Linked DNA regions of Homo sapiens: regions 1 and 3 are each linked to region 2. Evidence: promoter capture Hi-C in human tissues and cell types (Jung and others, 2019). All regions are on one chromosome and are shown on one strand. Each heading gives the region's core, a stretch centred on a gene start or on the middle of the fragment in contact. The rest is flanking DNA. Distances are from core to core; before and after follow the strand shown. Region 1 overlaps NPSR1-AS1 (NPSR1 antisense RNA 1). Region 2 holds the start of NPSR1 (neuropeptide S receptor 1). Region 3 overlaps NPSR1 (neuropeptide S receptor 1).

Evidence for each region. Contacts are between HindIII fragments. The study calls those that stand out against the background at their distance.
Region 1: a contact is called between a fragment that was not itself captured here and the fragment with the promoter of NPSR1 in region 2, in 2 of the 25 tissues and cell types used here (small bowel and stomach).
Region 3: a contact is called between a fragment that was not itself captured here and the fragment with the promoter of NPSR1 in region 2, in 4 of the 25 tissues and cell types used here (adrenal gland, aorta, liver and 1 more).

The regions. Positions count from the first base shown.
Region 1 is chr7:34,612,493-34,616,355 of GRCh38, reverse strand. All of the region lies in intron 2 of NPSR1-AS1 (NPSR1 antisense RNA 1), which reads left to right. Among named protein-coding and RNA genes, the nearest start is that of NPSR1, 44 kb to the left of the region's middle. The HindIII fragment of the contact is 3,781 bases long and covers 1-3,479 here.
Region 2 is chr7:34,656,657-34,660,462 of GRCh38, reverse strand. NPSR1 (neuropeptide S receptor 1) reads right to left here and starts at 2,245. Exons shown (of 9, transcript NM_207172.2): 1 at 1,904-2,245. The coding sequence starts at 2,050. The region is part of intron 2 of NPSR1-AS1 (NPSR1 antisense RNA 1); the gene reads left to right. RefSeq lists an enhancer at 1-206. The HindIII fragment of the contact is 11,658 bases long and covers 1-3,806 here.
Region 3 is chr7:34,706,780-34,711,017 of GRCh38, reverse strand. All of the region lies in intron 2 of NPSR1 (neuropeptide S receptor 1), which reads right to left. The region is part of intron 2 of NPSR1-AS1 (NPSR1 antisense RNA 1); the gene reads left to right. Among named protein-coding and RNA genes, the nearest start is that of NPSR1-AS1, 49 kb to the left of the region's middle. The HindIII fragment of the contact is 4,572 bases long and covers 566-4,238 here.

The DNA.
Region 1 (3,863 bases), core at 340-2,839, 43 kb after region 2:
ATGGTTTATGTTTCTAGGAATTTGTCTATTTCATTAGGTTATACAATTTGTTGGTATAGAATTTTTCATAGTACTACATTACAATCCTTTTTATTTCTGTAAAATCAATAGTAATGTCCCATTTCCATTTCTCATTTTAGAAATTTGAGTCTTTTCTTAGTCCATTCAGCTAATGATTTTTTAATTTTGTTGATCTTTTTGAATAACCAACTTTTGGTTTAATTGATTTTCCCTGTTATTTTCCTTTTCTCTATTTCATTTATCTCTGTTCTAATATTTATTTTGTCTTTCCTTCTACTAGCTTTTGTTTAATTTGTTCTCCTTTTTCCATTTTTTAAGTCATAAAGTTTGGTTGGTGATTTGAGATCATTCTTATTTTTTAGTGTGGGCATGTATAACTTTAAATATTGCCCTTAGCGTGGTTTTCACTATGTTCCATGCATTTTTGGCATGTTATGTTTTCATTTTCATTCGTCTCTAAATATCTTCTAATTTCCTTTGTAATTGATGCTTTGATTCATGGTTGATTAAGAGTGTGCTGTTTAATTTCCACAAATTTGTGCATTTTCCAGTTTTAATTATATTAATAATTTCTGACTTCATCCCATTGTCATCAGAGAAGATACTTAGTATCATGTCTGTCTTTTCAAATCTACTGTGATTTTATCTGTGACCTAACATATAAATGTCCTATATGCACTTGAGAAGAATGTGTATTTTTTTTTTTTCCTTGGGTAGTGTTCTGTATTTGTCTGTTAAAACTAATTGGTTTATTGTGTTGTTTACATCCTCTGTTTTCTCACTTATCTTTCATCTGATTGTTCTATCAGTTTTTGAGAGTACAGTAGTGAAATCTCCAACTATTATGGTAGAACTGTCTACTTTTCCCTTCAATTCTTTTGCTTTATATATTTCTATGCTACAGTCTGTCATTAGGTGTGTATAGGTTTATAATTATTATATATTCTTGCTATATTGCCATATTAAGTCTTTGATAATGTCCTTCTTTGTCTCTCATAATCTTTTTAAATTTAAAGTCTATTTTGTCTGATATTAGTATAACCACCTCTTCTCTCTTTTGGTTACTATTTGCATGAAATATAATATTTGATCCTTTCACTTTCAACTTATTTGTGTCTTTGGATGTAAAGTATCTCTTGTAGACAGCATATAGTTAGATCATGTGTTTCTTTAAAAATAATCCATTCTGTCAATCTCTGTTTTTTATATGGAAAGCTTAATCCATTTACATTTAAAGTAATTACTAATAAGGAGGGACTTATTTCTGTCATTTTGCTATTTTTTTATGCTGCTTAAAGGTTTTGGATGCTTGACTTTTCTGTTCCAATGCTCTCTATGAAATACTGCACATATATGCAGAATTTTAAAAAGAAGATTTGTGGTTTCTCTTGAGAAGACATAAAGGTATAATGTTCAGAAATCCAGATTCTTTGTTTGGACTCTATGGGCCTGTATAAGCATCAATGACTGACTGCTAACATGTTGCTGACTACTGATTTTCTCATACTCTTTGCTCTTTACTATTATTTGCTATGTATCTGCCATAACTCTCAAAACCTTTAATGACCTCGAAAGTTCTCCAGTAAAACTATGTGATATTTGTATAACCTGTTCTAACTTTCTGTTTAGAAAAATGAACCATATCTGCATTATTGCACACTTATCCCTTGACATAAATGTCTTAATCAAAATAAACAAAAATACTAGCTATTATAATTGCCTATGCATTTACCTTTATTACTATCTTTACTTCTTCATCTAGCTTTCAGTTTTGTCTGATGTCATTTCATTTCACCTTGCAGGACTCCCTTAAGCACTACTTGCAGAACATTTCTACTGGTGACAAACTCCCTCAGTTTTGCTTATCTGGGAATGCCTTAATTTCTGCTTCACTTTTGAAGGACAGTTTTGCCAGATACAGGATTCTCGGTTGACAGCTTTTTTGTTTGTTTGTTTGTTTGTTTTTTAGTACTTTGAATATATTGGCTGACTGTCTTCTGTTTACCAAAGTTTCTGATGACAAATATGCTGATAATATTATTGAGGATCCTTTATATGTAACCAGCTACTTCTCCCTTGCTGCTTTTAGGATTCTTTCTTTGTCTTTGTATTTTGAAAGTTTGATTACAATGTGTCTCAGTGTGAATATTTTTTTAGTTCATCTTACTTGGTGTTTGTTGAGCTTCTTGAATGTTTTTATTTATGTCTTTATTCACTTTGGGGAAGTTTTCAGTCATTATTTTTGCAAATATTCTCTCTGTTCCTTTCTTGTTCTTATGGGACCCCTACAATGCATATATTGGTCCACTTGATGATATCCCAGAGGACCCTAGGCTCTGTTCATTTTTCTTTAATCCTTTTGTTTCTCATACTCAATAATTTTTATTGTCCTATCTTCAAGTCCTCTGATTCTTTCTTCTACCTGCTCAAATCTGCATTTGAGTCTCTGTAGTAGATTTTTCATTTTAGTTATTATACCTTTAAGCTTCAGAATTTCTCTTTGTTTTCTTTTTAAGTTTTGTCTTTATTAATATTTGAACTTATTCATACCTTGTTTTCTTGACTTTCTCCACATCTTCCTTCAGTTATTTGAGAATCTTTAAGACATTTTTGTTAAAGCCTTTGTCTGGTAGATTTGTCATCATGTCATTTTTAGGGACAGTTTCTGCTTCTTTGGCATGTGCCATATTTCCTGTTTCTTTGTATGCCATGTAATTTATTGTTGAAAAGTGGGTATTTGAATCTAATAATTTATCTAATTATTGTAACCTCATAAATTATCTAATAGCAAATCAGATTCTCCCTCTTCCTCAGGGTTTGCTTTTTAAAAAGTTGTTCATTGTTTTGCTTTTTGGGTTGTCATTGACTGTATTTGTGCCAATGATTAGCTTGAGGTGTAAACTTAAAATATTTTCAGGCCTTTCTGAGTCTGCAGTTTTCTCTAAACATGCATGATCCCTTTCCAATTTTCCCTGTATATGTAGTTGTTTCTCAGTATCTTAGTGTTTCATGTCTGGCTCCAAAAGTTGGAAAAAGAAAAATAAAGAAAGGGATGAGAGGGTACTGGTCTTTTAAATCCTGTGAAAGTCACTCTAGCTAGAGAAAGAGGGGTTTGCAACAATGGGGAAATGGCCACTCATATCTTTGTCTGTACCTCTGTGGTCAGAAGCAGCAATTAGCAATCCAAATACAGATTTTAGGTATTTGGAGGATTTGGTCCCTATTTTCCACTTTGGTTCCTGCAAGTTGTATACATGCTGCTCCCGAAATGTGCACAGCTGCCTGTCATGGGGCCTTGGGTGGGGATGGGTAGCTGTTCAAATATGTTGTCCTAGACAAAAGGGAAAGGCAATCTTCATGCTGGGTCTGTTTTATTCCATGAGGAAAAGGTTGGTTGGCTGTAAAGTGTAGGAAGGCATTTCAGTGGAATGCATTTGCAGGCTACAAAGCACATTCCTTGGCTTCTTTCCCATGCATGTGGGTACAGACAGAAGTTGTCTGGAGCTGTTTTCACCTTCTTTAAGTGGTAGTGGGAGCACTCTGTAGTAAGTGCCAGGCCTTCTATTCCACATGCTGAGAATGCTCGCTTCCTGAGATAACTTACAAGTTTGAGTCTACCCTAATATTTACTCCCTGGACAACTTCACCTTTATCTCCCATTACGCAGCTTGTACAGAGTCTGTGAAGCATCAGGCAGAAGCTACCATCTGATGCTCGTGATTTTCATTATTGAAGTCCATGCAAATGGGTTCACATCTATTTCCAATTAATTTTTCAAGCCTCCACCACCTATAGCACAACATTGGATGTCTCTCTTTCAGAGTTTTCTTCATACTGTGTCA
Region 2 (3,806 bases), core at 996-3,495:
CAGTGAACAAGGGCTTGCATTGGAACTATTTCTGTATCAACAATGCATTAGAATTGCTTGTGCCCAAAGGGGATCATAGAAAAAAAGTTACACTAAGAAATATAAGCTAAGTTCTCACAAATACCACCAGTAATCACTGTGTAACTAAAAATCACAGGGTTTTAGTCAATACACGTATCTCTCAAATAATGAATCTGAGCATTCTAAGCTCCTGGCCAAACACAATTCCTGTCTTTCTGCTTTTCTCCTTGTCCAGTGGTCCAGCCGTTTTGCTGCAAACATATCAATAGGAATCAGCTAGAGATGCTGTGATTCTCTTTAGTGTCTGGCGATGATGTTGCTAGGATAGAGAGGACAAACACTCATAGAGAGCAAGGTGGGATTTGTTTCTTCACATATTCCAAATATCCCTGTAGGTGCTATATTCAAAAAATGGCAAATGAGATTTCAGCTGAGATTGATTCTTGCCAGAGTCTCAGAATAACCACCTTATTGCTGATTTTATTCCCTTTGCAATGGAGGGCCTCTCTTCATTCTGCTTGCTATCATGTTCTAAGAATATCAAAGAGGCTACACAGGCAGCAATACTGAGTGGAGTCCTGTGCTTCCTGGGTGCACACAGCCTGCCAAGACAGACTCTCTGGGTCTGCAGGCTGATTTCATAAAGGGGATTATTCAGTCGACATTAAGTGGCAACAAACTCTAATTTTACTTTCTAAGCTACATCGTGGAGCTGTGCAGCTGGGCTGCGTATGTGCATATGCATTAGGAGGTGATTCCAAGGGACAGGGTTTCACTGAAGCCAGTGGAGGAGTAGTTTGCTCAGGTTCTGCTTTGCTGCAGGATCATTAGGGCCCTGGAAGTTTAAGTCTGACTCCTGGGACAGCACCCTGCTGAAAGTTTTATTCTGAATATTTGCAAAAGAAGTGAACTTCCAGTAGGGAGGTGGATGTTACAGTAATGCTATCTCATTGTGTAAAAACCAAATCATTTCAAGAACATACAGAGGATTAACAACAACAACAACAACAAAACCCAACAAAGCAACAACTAGAATCTTTTTGAAGTATTTTTTCTTCAGTGGAAAGGACCAGTTTGAGACCTGTGAATTATTGCAATGACTAAACATATCGTTAGACAGGTGTGAAATAACCTGACAACCCAGCATTCTGAGGCAAGAAGCAGGAAACTGTTCTTTTCCCAAATGTGCGGTTCATTTCTGTCCACAAGATCTTGTTGCGGAATAAGAAACAATACAGTATTAGCTTAATGAAGATCCTTCCTCAGTGTGGCCCTTGGATACTTTGAAGGTGAAACTCACCAAACTCTCTGTCCTTCATTTGTTCTAGGAGGTAATTTGTTGCAAATGGTGGCATCATCAACTACCCTCAAAGAAATATATTCCTCACTGATGTTTAATGAAAAGGATCATCAAAGAAAGTGTCGTCCTTCCTGCCTTATTCAATGTTGTTTCTCATCATATCAGTCACTGTCCTGGGGATTGTGAGCTTTCCGCATCTCTGGTGTTCCTAGCAAAAAACTCATAGCTCTAACCCCTACTAGAAACAGACATTTCAAGTACTGCTATAGGATTAATTAAAAGTGCTTTCACCTAAGGAAAGGGGGAAAGTAAAAATCATCCACTCATAAATGTTACTCACGATTCACACATTTCCAGCAGCATCAGAAAGAAAAACGTCACCTGTATTCCTAAGAAACTACAATCTAGGTCTCTGCACACTACAGCTTGTTGTTTTAGCACTTCAGACTTTTAAAAATCCTTTTTAGTAAAGAAAATAACACTCATTCACAATACTGGCTATGATACTTCAATTGACACTCTTAAGTTCCAGCAGTCTCATTGTTATAAGTCAGTGTTCAGAGTCGCAGGCAAGAAACTTACCTTAAAGGAGTAGTAGAAGGAACCCCATTCCTTTCCTTCCACCACTTCAGTAAAAGTCACTGTTTCAGTGCAAGCCACTGGGGAAGAATCCAGCGTCTGCCCGGTCCCACTGGAATCGAAGCTGCCCTCTGTGAAGTTGGCTGGCATGGCTCAGGCGGGGTTGAGCCTCACTGTCCTTGCTCCTGCAGCTGAGTGAGGGAGTCCAGCTTGCCTCCTGAGAGCTGGGCAGCAGCTGCAGCTCTGCTGAACGGAGGCACAGAGCCCTCCCTGAGCCCACCTCACTGAAGAGCTCTGCCTGATGACAGGGAGGATCTACGTGCTGCTCTCTCCTTGGCAATTACCACCAGGTAGCCAGCATAGCACAACCCTCATCACCCCACAGTCCCACCCAGGGCCAGGGCCCCACCCCAAGAGCAAGGTGGAGCTCCCCATAGCCATCGACATGGCTCCCTGGATGAGACCCCTGTTCTGTTTTGCTTTTCCTTACTTCCACGGTGGACCCCCACTTCTGCTCCAGCTTCAACAATAAAGGAATTTGGACTAATCAGTAGGTGCATGAATTCGGGTCATGTTTCCACTTCTGAAATCAAATTATAATTATGCATTTGTTTCAGCTGAGGTTGCTTTCTGACTTAAAGCCTCACCTTGCCATCTACTGTGTCATGTGCTCTTATTTCCGTAAGTGTAGGCAAATAGTACGTTTGTATTTCACACCCTTAGTTCTATCTAGGTGTTCACAGGGCGGTTCTCAGAGAAACATGAGGTCTGTGTTTGTCAATAAGCTACAACACCTTGTGATATGACTGGGAGGGGCCTGGTGAAGATTCTTACTGCTTTCAGTATATTCACCTCAGCTTCTACCTAGGACCAATACTCAGGGCGAGGGTAGAAAGGAGGTAATGCAGCATCCTGGGCACCACAGACAGGGCTAGGCGAGAATACTAACAGCTATTCCTGTTTCACAAAAAACCTGCAAAGCACATTTACACGTTCTTTCATTCAGTTTCCCAAACAACCTTGTGAGATAGGCAGGGAAGGTATCTTTATGTTCTCCTTTATGCTAGCAGAGAGTGGCTCCAATAGGTGAAATGACTTGCCCAAGATCCCGCAGCTGCTGATGTAAATGAGCTGATAACCCATCTCCAGAACTTCCTAGACAGTGGTGCTTTTACTGTAACAGACTGGTTTGCATCAAATCTCAAATGTCTATGGGGCATGAAGGTAACATGAATGAGGGTAGCAGGCCAGGTATAAAACAATGGGAACTAAGCTGCTTATATGACAACCAAGCACAATACCTGATTCCTCACATTGAGAACACTCTGTGAACCAACCAGGTCCAGCCACTGGTTTATGGCACCTGGAATAAGAGGTAGTAGCTTTAGTGGCCACCACTAAAGAACCTGGCCCCCATGAGATCTCCTGGGGAAGCTTTATTATAAACCATCGAGCCCCAAGGAGGGCACAGTGCTCTAGCAATGAGAAGGCATTGAGTCTATAATGAAGGGCAGCAAACAGAAGTGAGTTGTGTAGAAAACTGGATAAGCTGTGGACTCTTAAGGAAAGGTTCAAAACAGGACAACAACTCAATAGCAAAACAAGTGCAGCATATTCCAACTAACAAATGAGTATGAAGATAGGCTCAACCATATTAAAAATTAAGGAAAATAACTAAAACCAGTAAGAATGTTTACCTATTATTATAGTGAAAGCTAGCGTGTGGCTATCCCCAAGTGCTGACAAGATTGAAGGGAAACGGGTGTACATCTTTACTTCTGGTGAGAGTTAGTTGATGTGGTAATTTTTGAAAAGCAATTCAGCAGTATTTAGTAAAGCTGGAATTACATATCCTCTAATGCATTGTTCCATTTCTAGATGCTAATAATTTTTCATCTCTATCTGG
Region 3 (4,238 bases), core at 1,602-4,101, 50 kb before region 2:
TGCGTTCTGCAGGTACATAGAAGTGGTCAGCTTTTCTTGCCATCCTAGCCATTTGAATTTCAGTTCTGTCCCATCTGCCTGTACTCCTTGTGATAGTGTTTCACTTTTTCATCAATAAGCTTCCAACTTGCCTTTGGAAGCATCTCTTGAGGCAAACTTGTTTCTCAGGTGCTTGATCTTCAGCTCTGTGAAATTCCTTTGCTTTTTCTTAAGGGTTTCTGGCACAGCAGGAAACATTTCTTCTCTTCAATAGAATTTTAACTATTCTTGCAGTTGATGCTTATAGGCAGAATAATTGAGAATCACTAGACCCCAATGCTATAAAGGTCTCTTGTGCTTGTATTTATGAACCTACTCCTGTATGAAGTCTTTGTTCTCTAGCCAAGGAAGCCTGTGTCTGCCATTTTCTGAAAACACTGCATACTTCTAGGCATCCTGTTTTCTAGGTTAGAATGGCTTCCCCACCTATCTCTGTGGGAAACCTGCCCATCATTTAAGATTCATCTATTCTGGAAAGGACTTTCTGAATTCTCTTCTTAGAATACAATTTACCTTCTTTGAAACTCTTTTAGCTCTTGCTAAAACAGGAATATAGGAAGTACAAATGGCAGTTTAGTCACTAATATTAGAATCTAGAAACAGTTAATTCACAGAAAATAATTCCTCTGCTCCTTTCCTCTGCTTTCTTCCCTAAAGGGAGGCCACTGTAGCTTTAGTCTTAGGAGGTTGGGGTGAGGATCAAAAGAATTGGGAATAATCCAAAAACTCATCCTCTACAAACCTACCCAACTTTTCAGATTTGGTCAGAAGGTGGCCTTTCTAATATATTGCAAGTAGGAAGGGTTTTGGATACAGCAATTTGAGACTGAAGAGGGATCAGGGATTGAAAATCGTGGAAGCTATGGCTTGAGTTCCTAAGGTCAACAAGTACCTGAATGACTAGAGAGCTACTGCAGGTGCTTGCAGCACCAAAATAGGTGTTTTGCAGGAGCTTGCTCAGGAGTCTGAAAGCTTTAAGAATTTTTGGAAGCAGCAGGAAATCAGCTGATTTCCAGGAACTAGCCCAGAAGGTGCTGATAATCTCACGTTTGCCATCTGCTCATGTTCTGTTAGCCCTGCTACAGAAGAATAATGGTTTCTCCTTCTCATCTTTTTTTTTTGGTGGATATTCTGTCATAATGCTTAGTAGAGTGTTAGGACATATAAATATTTTTATATTCATCTTTCATTCATTCATTTGGTTCATTCATTGCTTCAACAAATATTAATTGAATAACTACTGTTCTAAGTTCTTGGAGAATAAAACAAAGATCCCTGTCTTATAGTGAGGTTAGGCAAACAATCAGTGGTAAATTCAATAAATAAGTAAGTTATAGTAGAATAGAATGTGACAATTGCTGTGAAAAAGGGAAAAGTGAAGCAGAGTAAAGGAAGTCAGGAACGCTGTGGTCTGGGGCTGGTGGGCTCTATTCATCAGGTTGGTCACAGAAGGCCCCAAAAGAAACTGACATTTGAAGAAAGATTTGAAGGACATGAGGGAGTTAGCTATACAGACTATGTCTAGCTTCTGTCTGTGCAACAGTGACCATACTGTTATTGTCCAAGAACAGTAAGCCAAAGAAACCTGAATTAAGAGTCACTGGAAGTTGTAAAACTCTTAATTATTAAAATTGAGAACAGGTAATAATTATTAATGTTAAGAGTTTTTGGCAGAGTTCAGTCAGAATGGAGTCAGTAATTGCTGAGCAAGGGCACAGTTGCACAGGACCAAGTTGTGGTAGCTGTATTTTGTCACTCTATTCCTGGGGATCCTAAAAGTGTAACCTCCCCCAGGGACTCCTGAGAAACGTAATGAGGCCGCCAAATTCTCAAAAGTGTTTTGAACAGATACTTAGTTACTCTCAAGCCTCTTGAGGAGAAGAATGACCCTGCAACTCCTGGCTCCTTATTCCTTTTTCCCTCACAGGCAAGATGGTGGAATTCAAAAGGAAGATCAAGCTGGTTACAATTCAGCTAGAAGACCCTGGGGAGGCCACTTACCCTCTCTGAGCCTCATTATCCTCTCCTAGAAAATGGGAATATTTACCTCAAAAAGCTGGTGCAAGGGTGAAAGCAATGATAACTTTAAAGGTCCTGAAGTTTACTGCTCACCACTCACCTTCCTATGTGAATATCAGGGAGGGAAACACAATTGCAATTTATTTGATCTGTGTACAATCCCCTGAGTTGAATGGGATAGGCTAAATGTATAACTTCATAACTACTACTTTTCTCAGGCAGTGTTAAAATGTTTTTAATACTCAAAGATATTCAAAAGGTTTCCAATACTTGGGCAGAGGCATCTTCTGACCTGCTTTGGAATCTAGGCGCTGACTGCCAGGTGCCCCAATCCCAAAGCCCTGAGAAAAATCTAATTTTTCCTTCCTCTAACTATAAGCTCCAGCATGTTTGGGACTCTGTCGTTTTCCCTCATAGCATTTGCACTGGACGTTGGGATTACCTCCCCAGCATCTATTTCTCCTGCTTTTGTTAAGTACCCTGGCTTTCAGTTGAAGTATCCATCTTACCTGTTCAGCCCATGTGTTTTGGGGAAGTCTGAATTTTCAGGAGTGAGACATTTGACTTCAGCCTAAGCTCATCAGTGTAATTGCATGTCTTGTTCCATGGATTAGTTCAAATATGACCCTATAACTTAGTTATGTCAGTGAGGCACATGCACAGGCTTGTCAAGCCCTGCTGGGAAGGGTTCCTTCCTATATTTCTAATAAAACTTGCAGAAATCACATTTTATCTCTTTGCATGTGGAAGAGAGTTCCCATGAGTTACTAGCAGGCATTTGTTATGGGCTGAATTGCATCTCCCCTAAATTCATATGTTAAAGTCCTAACCTCCAGTCCTTCACAATGTGACATGCTTAGAGATAGGGACTTTAAAGAGATAATGAAGAAAAAAAGATGAGGTAATTCTGGGTGGGCCCTAATCCAGTATAACTGGTGGTGTCCTCATAAGAAGAGAAGATTAGGATACAGACATGGACAGAAAAAAAGCCATGTGAAAAAAACGGAGAAGACAGCCATCTACAATCCAATGAGAAAGGCCTCAAAATAAAATTAGCCAACACTTTGATAGAGGACTTCTAGCTTCTAGAACTGTGAGAAAGTAAATTTCTGTTGTTTAAGCTGCCCAATCTTTGGTATTTGTTACGGCAGTCCCAGCAAACTAATACAGCATCCTATAACCAGCCTTGGGAGCAAGGCTTAGGATGAGACTTCTCCTCTGCCCTCTACCACTGCTGCATTGCTGAGGCAAATAAAGTCTAAAGCTTACTCTATCACTGAGCTTTCGATGATGAAAGCAAAATTATCCTTTTTATTGCTTTATTATTTTACCTGTAATTTGTAATCAAATCCACTGTGGGTCCTTAGCACCTGGAACCATGCCTCGCCATAGTAAGTGGTTAATACTGTTTGTTGAATTACGAAAGCAAAGCAGGAGTAAATAATCACAGTATGGAATTGTCCTAAGTTGACTGTGGAAACTGAGTGAGGCAGGGAACAACAGGAGAATGGGAGTCAGCTTGTTACTATAGTCTATTTTCTACATTCCTTCTGCATGGGCCAGAAGCCAGCTATTTCTATTATTAAGTGACAAGCTGATTCATAAAGGTGACTGACACTCATTACAGCAAAAGTTGTTTAATTAGTTGGCTTCTGAAGATGTAAGAATCCCCCTCAACTTTTGCAGTTGGAAATTTCTAATTAGAATCAAAGGACCATTAGAACCAGATCAGTTCTGGCTTCCTAAAGATCATGGAGATAACCCTTGTAATTTTAGAAATGAGAAAATGAAGGTTTAACAAGGGTAAATGCCTTTCCCAGGTCACATATTGTGCTCTGAAGCAAAGGCATGGAATATAAAGAAACCCAATTTTTCTAAGAAAGAAAAAGCTTTACTGGGAGAACAGTTATTCTTTTTAGTTGAATTATTCACATAGCGATAGGACAATGCCATTTTTTCTCCTGTTTGAGAGAAACTGATTTTCTCAATGAACATGGCCCACCCAGCTCTTCTTGGTGGAGGAAACAATGATGGCATTGTGCAGCTAGTGTAGGAATAATCCAAATAAAAGATATGTGCATTTATTCAGATGTTAGCCAATTAAAAAACTTTCAGTAGATGGGTGAAACATATGAGACAGAGAGAGATTTCCTAGCATTGAGTTAAAAAGAGCACAAAAA